Regions from separate parts of the Homo sapiens genome. Here region 1 is linked to region 2. The links are contacts of gene promoters, found by promoter capture Hi-C in blood cells and fetal thymus (Javierre and others, 2016). All regions are on one chromosome and are shown on one strand. Each heading gives the region's core, a stretch centred on a gene start or on the middle of the fragment in contact. The rest is flanking DNA. Distances are from core to core; before and after follow the strand shown. Region 1 overlaps FAM107B (family with sequence similarity 107 member B). Region 2 holds the start of FAM107B (family with sequence similarity 107 member B).

What was found. Contacts are between HindIII fragments. The CHiCAGO score rates a contact against its expected background, and 5 or more counts as called.
Region 1: a fragment that was not itself captured here is called in contact with the fragment with the promoter of FAM107B in region 2 in 2 of 17 cell types (naive B cells and total B cells); the score reaches 9.9 in naive B cells.

The regions. Positions count from the first base shown.
Region 1 is chr10:14,634,294-14,638,726 of GRCh38, reverse strand. The region is part of intron 2 of FAM107B (family with sequence similarity 107 member B); the gene reads left to right. Among named protein-coding and RNA genes, the nearest start is that of FAM107B, 140 kb to the left of the region's middle. The HindIII fragment of the contact is 714 bases long and covers 894-1,607 here.
Region 2 is chr10:14,773,453-14,777,554 of GRCh38, reverse strand. FAM107B (family with sequence similarity 107 member B) reads left to right here and starts at 2,658. Exons shown (of 5, transcript NM_031453.4): 1 at 2,658-3,302. The coding sequence starts at 2,892. The HindIII fragment of the contact is 2,997 bases long and covers 1,363-4,102 here.

The sequences.
Region 1 (4,433 bases), core at 1-2,500, 140 kb after region 2:
GATGTGAGAATAGTAAGGAATAAAAAAGAGCTCTTGGTCACTAACTGGATAAGGGATGAGTGAAGGTGAGCACTGGGAAATGATTAGGAAATAATCCCCTGAAAGGCAGGCAAAAATAGGTAGCAGGCATTTTGGAAAGTAAGGTGCTTAATGTCAAGATAAGACCTCCAAAAGAAAACTATTTCTAAGAGGCAGCTAAAAATGTGGATTGGCATTTTGAGAAAAAGTTAGCATTTGAGATAAAGTTGAATCTCAAACTTAAAGGCTGCATGCCAACATTGGGAGTAGGTGGATTTTCTGGAGAACAGAAAATTCATTCAAAGAGAAGGGAGCATAATGCTTCTACTTTGACTGGAAACCTTTAAGGCATCTTCCACTTCTAGCAATATGGAGGACTTTACAACATGAAACATATCCAGCTTACAGAGGGGAAAAAAAAAAAACCTTAGCAGGCTGTACACAACGTAAGATTTCTGTAAATCCACAGCTAATTGTTAAAGAAAATAATAGAAATTCCCAGGGACCAAAAACAAAGAAGAAACTGAAAACCAGAGTAATAATTTTATAAATTACTGTTATCACTGCTCTTGGGGCAGGTCTTAGAAATCTTTGGCCTTGGGTTTGGTGACCATCTGAGTTGGGAGAGTATATTAGTTATCCTTGGCTATGTTACCACATATTACCACAAACTTAGTGACAAAAAGCACAACATATATTTATGATGTTCCAGTTTCTGTGGGTCAAGAGGCTAAGCATGGCGTGGCTAGGTTGTCTGCTTGGGGTCTCAAATGACTGCAATCAAAGTGTCTGCTAGGCTGAGGTCTCCACTGGAGAGGAATCCACTCTTGTTGGAAGAATTCAGTTCTTTGCAGGTGTAGGTAAGATTGAAAGCTTCTGTTTTTTTCCTGGTTGTCAGCCAGGAGGCCACCCTTAGTGCCACATGGGCATCCTAATATACACCACCCCAACATGTCAGCTTGCTTTGTCAAAGCCAGGAAGGGAATGAGAGACTCCAGCAAGATGAATAAAATCATCTTGGAATCATGTCCATCCTGTCACCCTTGCCATCTGTGTTTGTTTGTTTTGAGACAGGGTCTTGCTGTTGCCCGGGCTAGGGTGCTGTAGCATGATCACAGCTCATTGCAGCCTCAGCCTCACAGGCTAAAGCCATCCTCTGACCTCAGCCTCCTAAGTAGCTGGGACTACAAGCACCATAAAAAGTTAGCCACCACACCTGGCTAATTTTTGTATTTTTTGTAGGGATAAGTTTTGCCATATTGCCCAGGCTGGTCTCGAACTCCTGGGCTCAAGTAATCCACCTGCTTCAACCTCCCAAAGGGCTGAGATTAGTGGCGTGAGTCACTGCAGCTGGTCTCATATTCTATTGGTTAGAGTCAAGTTACAGGTCCTGCCTACACTCAAGAGGAGGATATTATTCTAGGGTATGAACACCAGGAGGTAGGGATCATAGGGGCCACCCCAAAAATCAGACTGCCACAGGGAAAGGCCTGGGTGCTAGGAGGGGCATGGTGTTAGAAATAAGACCCTCGTGAAGCCGAGACCTTGAGGAATGACACTCTTGTTAAAAGGGAGACACCGATGAAGCTTGTTTGTCTCTGCATGAGCCCTGAGTAGGAACAAAGTCTCCCCTGAGAATTCATGATCACAGCTTACACAGTGCATGGGTTTGGGATTTAAGTTTACCTATAGAGTATAATGACTTCCTAAGTTGAAAAATGAGCATACAAAACATCCTAGATCAGTAAATCCTCCAGGACATCTGGCAAAAACAAATGGACAACCTCTTTGGAAAGATATGCCCACAATCCTTTGGAAGGATACCCGCAGATAAAGCTGCATGGGCCATCAACTCAAGCAATTCCAAATTATAAACTCTGCAAGGAGCTGAGCCATAATGACTTGGAGTTCAAGGCTATAGCAGCAGGATTCAACCTCCAAGAACTCGACTCAGTAGACAGCAATATGCATTATGGGCTGAATTATCTTCATACCCACTCCCCCACCCCCCCTAAAATTCATATGTTGAGCCCTAACCCCAGTACTTCCTTCGCCATGTAACTGTGTTTGGAGATGGACCTTTAGAGAAGTGATTAAGTTAAAATCAGGCTGTTAGAGTGGGCCATAATCCAATATTACTGATGTCCTTAGAAAAAGAGAATATTTAGACACACAAGAGATGTAGTGTTCAGTGCTTTGCTTTTCTACTGAAATCTGATTCCTTGGTTCTTATTCTAAAATGTAACATCATTACGTTGAGTTATTAAATAGTTCATATACTCTACCCCCAAAAAGAGTTAGAGGTATGTAGACAACAGGCAGAACGTATACATTTAGTTTTATGTGCACATAGAAGTAGACATTTCTCTCTCTCTCTCTCTCACTTGCTCTCTCTCTCACATGATCCTGGAATTGTTGGCTTTTTTTTTTTTTTTTTGGCTCCTTTTTATAAGAGTCACACTATGGCAAAATCCTGAGTGCATATCCATCCTATTCTGATTGGGCATAGGATGCCACCATTGTGTATGGGGATGAGGGGTGCTCAGATTGATTGGTGAAGGTAGCCAATCCTGAAGCCAAAGGAGCATCGAAGAAGTAGTTGTGCTCCAGGAATTTCAAAGTGTGTTGTTTGAAACTTGGAACACATTTTCTCATAGAAGCAATAAGACAAGTCATGGTATTATTTGTAGATTGGCGTAAAGACTACTGAATTCATTGTGCACCTGGCTCCACAGGAGCTATCATTTATCACAGAATTTCAGTGGAAAACACATTCTGGCCAGGCATGGTGGCTCATGCCTGTAATCTCAATGCGGTGGGAGGCCGAGGCGGGCAGATCACTTGAGGTCAGGAGTTCAAGACCATCCTGGCCAACATAGTGAAACCCCGCCTCTACTAAAAATACAAAAATTAGCCAGGCGTCGTGTTAGGCGCCTGTAATCCAAGCTACTTGGGAGGCTGAGGCAGGAGAATTGCTTAAACCCAGGAGGTGGAGGTTTCAGTGAGCTGAGATCACGCCACTGTACTCCAGCCTGGGTGACAGAACGAGACTGCATCTCAAAAAAAGAAAAAAAAATAGAAAAACACATTCCAAGTTCCAACCAGGGAGGTTTGAAACCTCTCCTTAGAGCAGAACTAACTGTGTGTGCAACTGACATTTTGAGTAGAGCAGAACTTCGTGGTATGGGGCTGTCTCTTACAGTGCAAGAAGGGATATCCCTGCCATATCCCAACCACACGCTGGAGGATCACTGGCAGAGGGTGTTGATTCTTTGTTTGTTTGTTTTAATAAGTAGTGAACAATAGCTAAAATCTCCATTTAGTTCTTTTAGCCTTAGGTGGGCTGTTCGAAGTCTAATGGTTGCAAGCAAAGTTTAGGCATCAGCCAAGCATTTGGGCAGAGTTCCTGTGGAGAATTTAGGGCTTCCTGGTTTCTTGCTCCTGTTCTTCTTCTGCATATTTCTCCTCTTCCGCTTCCAGCTGCCATGGCCCCTGACTGACCCCTACCCTAGTTCTTCAGGCCAAAAAAACTGAGGTTTGTTTCTTTTTCTTCCCCTCCCTCCCTCCCTCCCTTCCTTCCTTTCTTCTTTCCTTTTTTTTTTTCTTTTCTTTTTTTTGGAGATAGGTTCTCTCTCTCTTGCCCAGTCTCTGGATCGCAGTGGTGCAATCTCAGCTCACTGCAGCCTCCGCCTCCGGGGTTCAAGCGATTCTCCCACCTCAGCCTGCCGAGTAGCTGGGATTACAGGTATGCACCACCATGCCTGGCTAATTTTTGTATTTTAGTAGAGATGGGGTTTCACCATGTTGGCCAGGCTGGTCTCAAACTCCTGACCACAAGTGATCTGCCTGCCTCGGCCTCCTAAAGTGCTGGATTATAGGCGTGAGACACCGCACCCGGCCAAGACTGAGGTTTCTATCCAAGTGTTAGACACATACCCTGCCTAAATCTCCACCCCCACAGTGATGGCATCATCTGACTTCAGGCTAAAAGCTGCAAAAATGGGAAACTCAGCTAACGCCATCCTCCTCCCAAATGTAGACCCTTCCTGCTCCAGTTTCTGCCTGCTTTTGGTCACTCAAGTAGTTGGTTTTGGGGTTTTTTTTCTTTTTTCTTTTTTTAAGCTGGCAGCTGTTTTCTGTGGGAGAGTTAATTCCATCATTACTGGAAGCAGAATTTCATCAACTTTCCCTCTATTGATTCCCATTCTCTTGAAAAGCTATTTCCATGCAAATAAACCCAGCTTTGGCTGCCTGTTATCCAAAATGTGGACACCAAGCATATATTTTGAATTTTTTTTTTTTTTTTTTTGAGACAGAGTCTCGCTCTGTGGTCCAGGCTGGAGTGCAGTGGCATGCTCTTGGCTCACTGCAACCCCAGCCTCCTGGGTTTAAGCGATTCTCCTGCCTCAGCGTCC
Region 2 (4,102 bases), core at 1,409-3,908:
TATGTGCCACATTTTCTTTATCCAGTCTATTGTTGGTGGACATATGGGTTGGTTCCAAGTCTTTGCTATTGTGAATAGTGCCACAATAAACATACGTGTGCATGTGCCTTTATAGTAGCATGATTTATAATCCTTTGGGTATATACCCAGTAATGGGATGGCTGGGTCAAATGGTATTTCTAGTTCTAGATCCTTGAGGAATCTCTACACTGTCTTTCACAATGGTTGAACTAATTTACACTCCCACCAACAGTGTAAAAGTGTTCCTATTTCTCCACATCCTCTCCAGCATCTGTTGTTTCCTGACTTTTTAAAGATCGTCATTACAAAATAACTTCTTAGAGGTAGAGTGTTGGATCAAGGTCATTGGAAATGTCCTCTCTGGAGTATGTATCTGTGTGTGTGCACGTGCATGTGTGTTTTTGGAAAGCAGGATTGCATACTGAGAAAAGTATGAGCTCTGGGGCCAGGTTGCTGGACTCATCACCTTTTCTCATTTCCTTAAGCAGTGCTGTGACCTTGGGCAAGTTACTTAAGTTTCTGTGTCTTGGTTTTCTAATGAGTAAAAATGGGAATAATAATATCACCTTTCTTCTAGGGTTGTGAGGATTAAATGAGTTAATTTGCTGAGATTCATGTCTGATACCAAACACTCAATAACCATGGCCTGTTACTGAGTGTTATTCTAGGTCAGACTTAGCAACACACTAATCAGAAAGTCTACTGTTCTTAGCGGGCCAGTGCTGGAACTCCGATGAGTTCATGCGTGCCTCTGAGCACACCCACTGAGCGAGGAGAGGTGGTCCTCAGAGCCCGGATGCAAGCCCAGGGCCTCCGCAGACCTAGAAAGTGGCTCTGAGCTTTCTTCCTCAGCGGTCTCCTGAATGTGGCCGCTCGCAAGCTGCACTGTGAACTGCTGACTCTCTGTTCCAAAAGGGGCTTGACACATAATTGAATGAATATATGAATGAGTGAATGAAACCAGGTGTAAGAGTGCATTTTTCTTTTCTTAAATCCCTTCCTGTTACCTCCAAGCCTTCAAAAATGTCTTATGCAGCATCACAGCCCCGATTTACTATACGTGTGCTTGGAGGGGCACAGCATGGCACGACCCGACCCGAGTGGACTGTAGCAACCAAGTCAAATGGGAGACAAAGTGCAGTTCCGAGGGGTCTCCAGGAATATCTGGGAGGGGGGACCCTGGTAGAAACCTGAACCCCCTGATTTCTTATGGGTGGGGAATTTGGACAGCTTGCACTTGGGACACAATGAAAAAAGAATGAGCTCACAACCCTGGGAAGCCAGAAACAGCTTGGATAGCACGGGGCCTGCCACACGGTAACCTCTAAATAAATGGAAGCTTTCTATATTCTAACTTTCAGTAGAGACTAAAATAAAATGTGCATTTGATGCCATATCCACTCATTCTAAAGCCATATCTGCCTTTTTGTATTATGAATATGACTGTCCATTTAGAACAATATTTCCCGTATGGCCATTACATCTATAAAATGATTGTTAGATAGAATGAGACTCAGAGGACAGATAGGAGAACAGGGATCTCGGGCACCCAACAAGCCCTTCTTAGTGGCATAAACTTGCCTTAGTCACATGAAATTTCAAAGAATTGGTTTCTGCCTCTGTAAAACGGGAATCAGTGCCATAATATAATAACTACCACCTGTCTGGGCCAAAGAGCACATCTTGACATTAAATTAAAAGAGAGAGCAAACAAATTAATTAAGAGTGGGTAACATGCCCAGAAATCTTGACCCTAAAATCACTATTAACGGTAAAAGCATTACAGTATTACATTTCTATAACATTCCTAGCAGACAGTTGGCTAAGGAAAAATCTTGATTCTGAATTGTCTTAGAATATGTTTATAATTTATTATTTTTCACCATTCACATATTAATGTGTTGAGAAACAGAAGATCTATGTTCAAAAAGGAGTTACTTTCTGAAAGTAGGTGATATATACCATATAGGTAGAATACTTCACATGTACATAATACCTCCACACATAATAACATAATACATAAGGATAATTGTTAATGTAGGGCTCTCTTTTTTCTTTTTGGTATTGTTGAAAACTAATCAAGAACTTAGCCTAGCTAGTAAAAAAAAAAAAATCAAATTACCAAAGACCTATTTATAGTTATCAGAAAAGGCAATGTGGATCCTGAAACCAGGAAACTTGTTTTGAGGGTGGGGGGAAGATTCCGGGAAGATTCCGGAAAGATCCCGAAAAGTCCAGAAAGATTCAGAAAACACATCACACCGCATCTCTCCAGGCGAAAGATTGAGTCTACCTCCTATTTTAATAATGAAACAGCTGCTAGGGTCGTGGCCCTTCTAGGGGTCTTCATTTGTGATGGACAACTGGGTCGTTTTTGTTTTGTTTGGGGGAATAAATATTTGAAGGGGGGTAACCAAAGAAGGTTTTGCTGCTGTTATGATGTTATTGATACGCAGGCTGACGCTATTATGGCAGATGCTATCAGGCTACATTATCTTTATGCCTCCTAGGTAACCTGAAGCAATTGTCTATTGACTTGGCACTACCCTACCCTGAAGCGTCTGCCCTGCCTAGGAACTGTAACCGGAGCCACTCACATGCCTCCCCAACAGCTTTCTTTAGCCACTGACAGCATCACAGAAGGAAGAGCGCGAAATTGCCCAGGATGGACACTTTCAAAGGGGCCCCAGCGGCTAAGTGACTCTCAGGGAAGGTGGCCTTGCCATCCCAACTTCTATTTAGGGGCAACCACTAGCAAGTTCTTCTCTTCGGGCAATTGGAAAGAGTTCCTATAAGCAAAGTGGAGGTGATGTGGACCCCTGGAAAATTTCCTTGCCCCGTTTGAACTTTGCAATGATTCACTGCAAGTCATGTCCACGTGGAAAGCAAGACTCACCAAAAGACTGAAGTCTCCCTCTAGAAGCATGCATCCATTTCCGTGCTCAGCTCTGCTCGCCTGTTTTGGGAATACGAGGGAGAGTGCTTCCTTCAATCAGTCCGGCGTGGCTGATACTCATTCCACCGTCCGTGTGCAGCCTGTGGCCAAAGCAGGCAGACAGCCAAGACACCCAAGCGCAGAAGGAGCTCCAGAGAAAAGGCAAGATTCGAGCACCCATGCAGAGAGAAATGGCAGTGCGAATCGGAATTCAAGTCACCGCACTGCGGCCCAGCCCGCGGAGACGCCTGAAGATGTGCCCGGGTCCCTGGATGATGGGGCGGACTGTGAAGCAGTGGTGTTTCACGCTTCCATCCCCAGACCATCAATTATTGACACGCCCAAGGTGAGTGAGTGTTCGCTCTGCGATTATAGACGGGATGGAGCTGGAGGAGCGTTGGGATCATGTGGCGAATGTTTCAGCAAACAAACTCATTTAACCTTACTGAATAAGGCATTGCGGGCGTTCTCACTAGTGCGAAGAAGTGTGTTAAAGCCGTGTAGATTCTCAGAGTGTTCTCAAAAGATGTGGATGAGGCAATGATAATAAGCACTGGAGCCATGGCAATGACCGAAGGTAACCTTGAATTAACGGGCTAGGGTGCCTTAGAGCCAAAAATGGCTCACTCAATAACAGATTAGGAGTAAGATAGTTTACAAAAACATTTTTTTCCTTTTTCTATTTCCCCCTCCACCCCCACCGGTCTGTCAATTTATTTATATGAAAATCCACAATCTAAAAAGTTTGGCTAGGGAATTCACAAAACTGCCTCTACTTAAAATGAATCACATGATATCAAAGCAGTCTGGAAAAATTTGGAAATGATCATCAGTGTATGCCTAGTGGTACGGAAGGGAACTGACCTATAAAACTATTCATAATATGGATGTTTTTGTGATAATCTTCTGAGAGTTGAAGGCAGGAGGAGGAAGTTATTTAAAAAAAATGGTGCCACTGCTCTTAAGAGTTATTTACTTATTTTCTTTCCATTTTTGGCATCAGTGAATTTTAATTGTTGAGTATTCTGATTAGATGGAGCTGTACAATTATTTCAAAGTTCCCGGTAATCCCAGTTTGCAGATGCAGTGTAGAGGAAAGGTTTTCTAAAAGGTACACTCCAAAGATATCTCTTGACCATTTTTGGT